Regions from separate parts of the Homo sapiens genome. Here all the other regions are linked to region 1. Evidence: promoter capture Hi-C in 16 types of primary human blood cells and fetal thymus (Javierre and others, 2016). All regions are on one chromosome and are shown on one strand. The core of a region is centred on a gene start or on the middle of the fragment in contact, and the rest is flanking DNA. Distances in the headings are between cores, read along the strand shown. Region 1 holds the start of H1-10-AS1 (H1-10 antisense RNA 1). Region 2 overlaps TMCC1 (transmembrane and coiled-coil domain family 1). Region 3 overlaps TMCC1 (transmembrane and coiled-coil domain family 1).

Region 1 (3,092 bases), core at 421-2,920:
GTACTTTAAGTTCGTCCCAAGCCAGCAATTCCCACCCCTTGCTGAAGGCCCCTGGCTCCAGGCCTACCCTGGCCAACAGATCTGGGGTATAAGGACCCGAGGGGCCCGCCATCCAACCCCGCGTGCCGAAGGCGCCCATCCCTATTCCACTCAGATTAAACGAGAGAGGCTGAAAGGTTTAAACGCTTTATTGTGCCCAAAAAAAGGCCCATGGAATGAAGGGAAGAGCCGCGCAGCCCTGAGCCCGGAGCGATTGTTTGTCGCGCACCCAAAGGCAAGGAGGGTGGGGAGCTGGGAAAGGATGCGCGGCCTCCGCGTCCCCGCGCGCCTGGGCCCGGCCAACCAGCGACCCCGCCCGGTGGGCAGGCGCGGCCTCGGCCATCGGCGCCTAGGGGCCAGTAACCATGACGACGGCCGTTGCCAAGGCCGAGAGCCAATAGAGGCGTCGCCGGGGCTGTTTCAAAAACCTAAAGCAAACAACGAAAAACGCTACATCGTTGGGGGAGGGGAAAGACTGAGAGGACCCGGGGCCCCTCCCTGAGGCTCAGACCAGGCCTCGCGGCCCCGGCCGGCGTGAGCCGTACAAAATCTACGTCACTTGGGGTAGAAAAACAAAAACACCGAAAAGCCCACGCCGGCCGCTCTGACCGGCCGACACGCTCACTTGCGGCCCTTGGGCACTTTGGGGACGCTGGGCTTGGCCGCCTTCTTCACCTTCTTGCCCCCGGCGGCCGCCGTCTTCTTGGCCTTGCCGCCTTTGTCCTTCTTGGCGCCAGCGCCCTTCTTGTGCGAGCGCTGCTCCGGCTTCTGGCCCCTGGCGGGCTTCTTGTCCGCGCGCCGGGAGCCGGCCGCGCCCGGGGCTGCCTTCTTCGCTTTGTGCGCGGTGGGGGCCGGGGCGGTGGCGGCCGCCGGGGCTCCGCGCCGCTCCCCGCCGCCCTCCAGCTTCTTGCGGTTGAGCTTGAAGGAACCGTTGGCGCCGGTGCCCTTCACCTGCAGAAGCGTGTCGTTCTGCACCAGCGCCTTGATCGAGTACTTGAGGTAGGTGCGCCCATTCTGCTGGTCGAACCACGGAACCTTCTTGGCCTCGGTGTAGATCTTGGCCAGCGACGAGCCGTTGCGCTCGCCCAGCCTACGGATGGTCTCCACCACCAGCTGGCTGTACTTGCCCGGCTGGTTCTTCTTCTTGCTATTCTTCCTCTTCTTAGATGGGGACAACGCCGCCGAGCCGCCAGCCTTGGTCACCTTCTTGGCCATTCCCTCGGCGGTCGTCACTGGCAGGGCCTCCTCGAGCTCCACGGACATGGTAGCAAGAGGATTGGTGGCGGGCGGCGCGCGGAAGCCGGGGGGCCGCGCCGGGAAGAGGAAGGCGAGGGGCCGAGGGGGTGCAGGGGGGCTGGGGGCGCGCGGCGGCTCCAGGCGGGAGCGGCCGCGGCCGGGCCTGGGGCCGGGCGGCAGGGCTGGGGTGGGGGCCGGGCCGGGCCGGAGCGAGGGTTGGGGGGCCCGGAGCCGGGGCCGGACTAGGGGACCGAGTTGGGGGTCAGAGACCGAGTCCGAGCCGGCGGCTGGAGCTGGGGACGTAGACCTAGGCCGAGCCGGAGCGAAGAGAAATCCCGCCGAACGCGAGACACCGCCGCCGCAGCTTCCACTGGCGCCTCTGGAACTCGCTGGGCGTGCGCGCTGCGCTCTGGCGGGAGGGCGCTTCTCTCGGCTTTTTATAGCTTCATGGCGGACCACGTTGAGAACAACAACAGCCTGGTCCGGGGCCAGCGCCAACTTGTGCTTCTTGGAGCCCCTTCTCCGGCCGCTGGCTTCTCGGACCGCGCCTCTCCAGCGCCGCCGCGCCCGCAGCGGGGCGCCCCGGACAGGGCCTGAGCTCCCGGCGCAGTGGAGAGGCGACTTGCGTCCTGGAAGGGCTCAGCAAAGGCGAACGGAGAGGTGCACCCTAGGCTGCGGGAGCGCGAGAGGAGGGGGGCACCTCGTTTGGAGGCCAATAGCGCGGGCCCCAGAGGAGGCCCCACGGCCGGGAGCTTGGCGGCCGGCAACCCAGAGAACGCCACGGGCACCCGAGCCTTGTCCCGGCCCGGGGGGCTCCAGGCCTGCCCGCAAGAGGAGCTTTAATTTGTCCAAACTAACACAGGGCGCGCCCTCACGTGGTCGGCTGGGGCAACGTGAACTGCGCTAGGACATCCTCGGGGGTTTTCCGCCCCATCCAAAGGGGATGGCGGATGGGAGGCACTCTCCAGCTGCACCCCGGGTTCTGGTTGTGCCTCTGGGAGCCTAGGCACAACCCGGGGAATGGAGGACTACGGCAGGACCTCTCTAGGGACACTGCCTCGCCGCTCCCCCCACCCTGTTGCCGCTGATGTTCCCAGGGCCTCATTTTGTAATCCACAAGTAGCTGCCGCCGGTCCCCCCAAAGCCAAATGGGGGCTCCAGGGTGGGACAGGGTGGGCGGGGGTGAGGCTGTGACACCCAGAGGAATTCCTGTGAGAGGATGGGGAAGGGATTCGCTCTTAGTTCCTGGGTGCACCCCTCCCCCTCTCCCGTGCACAGGGAAATGATGGCGGGAACACAGCAAAGGAGACCATGTCCTGGAGAGGGTCCCGGGCCCCACCCTCCCCGGGGGGGCTTGTGCAAGGCTGGCGGCCCGATCTCTGCTGATTCCAGTATTGGGGGTGCAGAGAAGGCACAGGACAGTTTTTGTTGAAGCCGTTGCAGCCTCCACTTGGGGAAGCTGAGGCCAGGGTAAGATGCTCGGGTAGGAGAGGGGATCCCTTTGGGGGTAGGTGATGTAGGGCACAGGAGTGGGGCTGGGGCTGGGGGGTGGCAGGGTTGCAGGCAGGAGACAGTCTCCAGAGGCCCAGCATAGAAAAGCGATGGAGGGGTGAGGGGGGACAGGACGCTGGCGAATTGGGGTTCCCAGAGTGAGAGACAGGAACATTTACAGGTGGACAGAGTAAAAGGCCCTGAAAAGGGGGTGGGTTGGTGCATTTGTGGCCTTGGGCCCAAGCAGGCTTCTCTGGGTGAGGGCTAGCAGCACCTCCCCTCTTCTCCAGCTCACCCCTTTCACACACACACACGCCCCCCATTTT
Region 2 (3,092 bases), core at 542-3,041, 570 kb after region 1:
CTAATATGTGATGAGAATGACACTTTAGCCCTGTGGTCTTCCTTCCAAAAGCATATTACATTCTTGGCCTAACCACAATGAAAACATCAGATAAATCCCAAAGAACGTTCTATAAAAATACCTGACCACGGCTGGACACAGTGACTCACGCCTGTAATCCCAGCACTTTAGGAAGCTGAGGAGGGTGGATTGCTTGGTTCTAGGAGTTCGAGACCAGCCTGGGCACCATGGTGAAACCCCATCTCTACAAAAAGTACAAAAATTAGCAGAGCATGATGGCACACATCTCTGGGCCCAGCTACTCCGGACATTGAGGTCAGAGGATCACTTGACCCCAGAGTGTTGAGGCTGCAGTGAGATGAGATCGTTCCACTGCACTCCAGTCTTGGTGACAGAGGGAGATCCTGTCTCAAAAAAACAAACAAACAAAACCTGACCAGTAATGTTCAAAACTGCCAAGGTCACTAAATACAGGGAAAGTCTGAGAAATTGTCACAACCAAGAGGAGCTAAGGAGACATAATTACTAAATGTAATGTGGTATTGTGGATGGGATCCTGGGATAGTGAAAGAACATTAAGGAAAAAACCTGTGGAAACCTGATAAAGTATGGTCTCTGTGATAATGTATCAATACTGGTTTATTAATACAGACAAATGATCACAGGGATGTAAGACGTTAATAATATGGGAAACAGTGTAGGATAGGCAGGAACTCTGCAGTATCTTTGCAATGTTTCTGTAAATCTAAATTTTAAAGTCTATTTTTAAAAATTATAACAAATTTATGATCAACGGCATCCCTGGAATTTTACTCAGTGCATCTAGGACACAAAAGATACTTAAAATATGGTCTTTGCCTTCAAGAAGCTTGTTGTCGCAGAGTGAAGACAAATGCTCATGAAACTAGTATAAAATACAAAAATAAGAAAAAATTAAATTGAAGAGTAAAGATAAAACTATATTAAGAATATAAAGAAGGTCTAGAATTATCAGGAAAGATTTGGTCAAGGAGATAAAACTTGAATTTGTACCTTAAAATATACTTCAGAGTAGCAAAGTTAAAAAAAAAAAAAAAGAATAAACTAAGCTCACAACAACCAGAAGGGTGAAGAAATAAGAAAAAGCTAACAGAAATTAAAATGGCTGGGGCATGGTGGCTCATGCTTATAAACCCAGCACTTTTGGAGGCCAAGGCAAGGGGGATCACTTGAGGCCAGGAGTTTGCCTAGGCAACATATGAGACCCCATCTCTCTCCATAATATCTTTAAAAAAAAGAAAAATAAAAACATTCAGCTCTGAAAAGTGAAGACTTAAATAGGAGACATAATAGCAGTGCTCAAACACTTTAAGGGTCATGTGGCAGAACTAACAGAGTTACACCTATACCCATTTAACTTACAAGCCAACCTCTGGCAAAATGTGACCAATGCTCAAGGACAAAGAGAGTGACAGCTGTTCAGTGGAGCCACAACAGGAAATGCCAATATGGATAGACAGGAAGCAGGTGGCTAAGTTCTCTACAACTTTTCAAAGGACAGTATGTATGTGAGCCCAAAGAAGTAAAAATCAGATTCTAATTCTGCAAATGTTTACTGACTATCTTAAGTGCCGGGCTCTTTCAAATACATTATCTTGTTTAATATTCGCAACACATCTATGAGCATGTATTAATGTAATAGAGGCTTAACATAAAAATAGAATTAAACCCTGCATGGAAACAGGAACATGTCAAAATTCTATACCATCCCCCACTCTCTGATAGGGACTCCAGAGCAGTTTTAAAAAGCCAAACAGTCTGAAGGCCCAGATACCTATATAACAATTTATTTCCTCTTGCTCTTTCCCTCAGTCAAGCTCTGTGGCTCTCAGCCTTTCATATTCGTAAGAATTTTATACAACTATACATACAAAAACATGCAGACCATACTTTTTGAGCAATTTATGGAATTTTCCAGAAGAGTTTTCATCTTACATGATTTTTGCCTCATGCACTAACTTGAGGACCTAACCCTGGGATGAGGTGCAACTCCACTGCAGTCTTACTCCATGGGTACTGTAAGGCAGGATCAGGAAGAGGAAACGGAAAGGTACCATCCTATTACATGAAGAACAACATTCTAACAAAGACATAAAATGTATTTACATAAAATGTAAGAATGACATGTTATGTGGGGAAGTTCAACACTGGAAAACAAGAGCAGCTCATCTGCACCTGCAGACCTTTGCACTCACTGTTTCATTTACCAGGAAAGCGCTACCATTTTTCAGGTCACAACTCAAATACCTTCTCCTTAATGAGGCCTCCTCTCACTAAGTAACCCTCCACCCACCTTTCAGTCATTCACTTGTCACATCAGCTTGTTTTATTTTCTTCATAATTCATATTAGGGGTCAGCAAACATTTTCTATAAAAGGCCAGACTATAATCTATAGGCCAAATCCACCTTGCCCCGTTTTATATGGCTAAGAATGGTTTTACATTTTTAAATGGCTAGGGGAAAATATTTTTAAAAACTCATTAATATTCTGTGACATGTGAAAATTTTATGAAATTCAAATTTCAGTGTCCCAAGTTTAACTGGAATATAAACATATTTGTTCACGTACTGTCTGTGGCTGCTTTTGTACTAAAACAGAATTGAGTAGTTGCAAAAGAGATCATATGGCCCAAAAACCCTGGTATGTACTGTACTTCCTGGTCCTTTACCAAAAAAAGCTTACTAACCACTGATTTATATCATTATCTGAAATGATCCTATTTGCTTGTTTGTTGTATATTCCTCATTCCCATACATACAGAATAAAGCTTAATTAGGGAAGAGGCCTTGTCTGTTTTGTCCCAACAATGTAGCCCAGTACTTAGAAAACATCCTGGAACAAAGTAAGGGCTCAATAAACATTTGATGAATTAATGAATGATCCATAAATGCCACTCTGAGGAGCTTAAACCTAAGCCCTGAGCCATTATATGTTCTGCACATTTATGAGAGGCATAAGCAGTCTTGCAGAAAAGGGGAAATATTCTACTATCAAGAAGGCCCAGTTTAAAGTAATGGTGGTTGGTCACCAACTAGTCTAGGGCACTGGGGT
Region 3 (3,092 bases), core at 431-2,930, 510 kb after region 1:
AGATTTCCAGTTTCTCTTGAAAAAAATCAGAAGCTCTGGCAAGACTGTGCCCACAGTACTAAATTTCAACCATCAGCTAAAGCTAAGACATTGCCTCTGTTAAACAAAGCAGGAACTCCTCAGTTTGTCCAAGCTCCATAACACCTAAGTTCACTCATTGTCACTACCTGCATGGCTACGCGTACCTGAGTTTTCAAACCCTAGCAGGACTATTTCTTCTATGTGCCTCAACTAACCATAACTGAGAGTTATATGGAAAAAGTTTCTCCTAGATTTAATATGCCTGGTTTTGGGTAAACCCAAAACAATCTGTTTATTAATAGTACACTATAATAATGTATATGCTCTACTGTGGCATGCAAAATGTAAAATGAATGCTGCTGATGTACTACAAAGTATATGAAAATTATAACCAACTTAGTGTACTTCCATGGTAAGCACAAACTCAGATTCTAGAACTTTATTCACTACATTCATTAATGTAAGAAAGCCATCTCCATGTGCAAAATCAAAACAATAAGAAACAAAGCATCTTTATTGCTCTACCATAAAACTGACCCTCAAATATACAGAAAGAATACATGAAATATACTTAAGGTTTTAACGAAAGGATAAAATAAAATATAGCACTATGTTAGGAAGGAAATAGGAATATAATTCTAAGCATTCATTCATTAGCTATAATTATTATTTACCCATTTGAAAAGGGGAAAAATTCTTTTACCACAACTTTAAGGTATTTGCTGAGATATCTTTTTAGTTACCAAAGGAAAGTCTGGAGAGTCCTAGGTATGAAAAACAGTAAGTTAACAGAAAAACAAAATCTTACAAACTTACCCGCTCCGCAGTTCCCTCCTCTCCTGGTAGACATGCAGCAGCAGCAGCAGCAGCAGCACAAGCTATTTCCATCATAGCAGAGCTGGTAGGTGCATCAGTTGTGGATGAAGACCTGGGTCGGCCTGACTGCATAACAGCTGTCATCTCCTGACCAGACTTCCTGTTGATTTGGGGACTTCCCTTTGGGGCCTCTGGCTTGCCCCGCCTACTATGCAAGCTTGTCCCTCTCTTCATCTTGGGTGGCACTCGAATCTGCTGCAGGACACGATTCAGAGCTGTGGGGTGGGTGGGGACACCATCAATCTCAGCACATGCGTTCTGGCTTTCCAGATCCATTTCAGGTTCTGGATCTGCCTGAATTTGCTGCACATCATGTGGAGACACTGATGACCTCCTGCGCTGGTGCTGGAAGAGATGCTTCAAGCCTTGGCCAATCACGTTAATGTTCTCCAAAGCATTGTGGGTCATTTTAGACAATTTTTGTTCTGATTCTGTCTGCTTTCTGGCCTCTGCATCTTGGGATTTGCCTCCAGGATCAGGGTCCTCAAATAACTGTTCACTGCCCGAAGGCTCCATCAGTAGACTTAATATGCTTATTTGCAAACTCAAAAAAATTTTTTAAACACACCAAGAGTGTCAAATTAGGTAGGCATTTGCTTCAACAGTGACTACGCATGCAGCTGTGAGACGAAGGCTTCATGCCTATCTAATGTTAAAAACAAAAAAACAAAAAAACAAAAAAAAAACCTTATATTATAAATCCATGCAGAAACTCCAGTGTTAAAACAAAGAAAAACATGCTACTGGCCAAACAAATAGGCACTATCATTAAGCAATCTTTAATCAGAAGATTAAAAGACAGTTTTCTAGATAGTGGGTAATGATTATTTTTTAGAATGAGAGAAAAAGCCCAGAACAAGTCCATAGGAAATTAAAACAGCAATGTTCAAAAGCAAAAATCCCTACAAGATTCAATATATACAGAATTAGATATTAGAGGAGCCATCTTGGAATGGACACTATAATGGTAGTTGACAGAACAGCCATTGCTTGGGAAATCAAGAGAAGAGACCATCCAATAGGTTTACTCTAGCTGAGGCAATTTAATCCCTCTCATTCATAACCACAGTTAATTATTCACAGGCTGAAACTCAGTATAATCAAAGAACAACAGTGAGAAATGGATATCCCAATCTAACTATATGTGGATTTTAATGGAAAAGTGTGTTACCATTCATATTCATCAAGTTCACTGGTAACTAGAGATGACAGGTTTGCTCTTTTGAGAAGAGAATGGAAATAAAAATCCTGTAAGTTGAATTCTCTGCTGAAGCACAAATGACCTTTCTGGCACCATATGAGTGAATGGTTCAGACAGAATCAGAATCAGAGACTAGAGCTTTGCTCAGTACCAGCTATCAAGAAAGGAGATTCAAAGAAATCCCTTTCTCTATAGTGTCATCCCTGACAGAAGCTTCCCATATATCCATACAAACTCAAAAGCAAAGTAACTGGGTAGGATAGAAAAGTAGAGAAAAAGAAAGGTCAAACAGCAAACATATACCAGTATTAAATGCAAGAAATTAAAAGGAAGCTGAAACTAAGAGATGTAAAATCAACGCAACTGCCATGGTTACTAAAATCACATGCAAAAAAAAAAAAAAAAAAAAAGGGAGGGGGGGATGGGAGATGATGAGATTTTTCCTAATAGAAAGTGTTTATTTTTGTACTGTATTTGTGCAAATATATAAGACAAAATTATATACATGCACAGAAGCTGCTACAGAATGCAAAATATGATGTAGGAGGTTATTTCCATATTTTTCTTTAAATTTTTGTTTAAAGGACTTTAAAACTCCCTACACTACCAAGTACTTCAACAATTTAAGCCACTACCAATGAAGCACCATGGTGCTCCTGTTCTGGGAATATGTGGACTTGCTGCCACCAAGTGGCAATCTAGAAAGCCATAAATTAGCTGAATAAAAGAGTTCCCTGTGAACTCAAGGCTACTAGAGTTTAGTGGAACAGGAATGCAAACTCACTAAAGTTTTGTTCCTGATGACTACTCTCAGAAGACTTTTTTCAAATATTTTATGGGCACTGTCATTGTGGCTCCACTGTCCATATTCTTTCATGCCTGTGATTCCATTACCTAATCTCTTCATAACAGAGGAGCATAAACAGGGAGACAGGGATAAAGACATTTGTCTCTCTCTAGTACCTTCCTACTTTCTAAATGCCACAAAATTGTT

What was found. Contacts are between HindIII fragments. The CHiCAGO score rates a contact against its expected background, and 5 or more counts as called.
Region 2: a contact is called between a fragment that was not itself captured here and the fragment with the promoter of H1-10-AS1 in region 1, in 1 of 17 cell types (fetal thymus). The highest score is 5.2, in fetal thymus.
Region 3: a fragment that was not itself captured here is called in contact with the fragment with the promoter of H1-10-AS1 in region 1 in 1 of 17 cell types (M1 macrophages); the score reaches 7.1 in M1 macrophages.

Annotation. Positions count from the first base shown.
Region 1 is chr3:129,314,601-129,317,692 of GRCh38, forward strand. It overlaps H1-10-AS1 (H1-10 antisense RNA 1), which reads left to right and starts at 1,671. Exons shown (of 5, transcript NR_026991.1): 1 at 1,671-2,745. H1-10 (H1.10 linker histone) reads right to left here and starts at 1,686. Exons shown (of 1, transcript NM_006026.4): 1 at 171-1,686. The coding sequence starts at 1,302. The coding sequence ends at 661. RefSeq lists silencers at 225-514, 895-1,024, 1,825-2,164. The HindIII fragment of the contact is 12,756 bases long and covers 1-3,092 here.
Region 2 is chr3:129,888,861-129,891,952 of GRCh38, forward strand. The region is part of intron 1 of TMCC1 (transmembrane and coiled-coil domain family 1); the gene reads right to left. Among named protein-coding and RNA genes, the nearest start is that of TMCC1, 3.3 kb to the right of the region's middle. The HindIII fragment of the contact is 1,850 bases long and covers 867-2,716 here.
Region 3 is chr3:129,826,966-129,830,057 of GRCh38, forward strand. It overlaps TMCC1 (transmembrane and coiled-coil domain family 1), which reads right to left. Exons shown (of 7, transcript NM_001017395.5): 4 at 838-1,543. The coding sequence starts at 1,413. Among named protein-coding and RNA genes, the nearest start is that of TMCC1, 65 kb to the right of the region's middle. The HindIII fragment of the contact is 1,257 bases long and covers 1,053-2,309 here.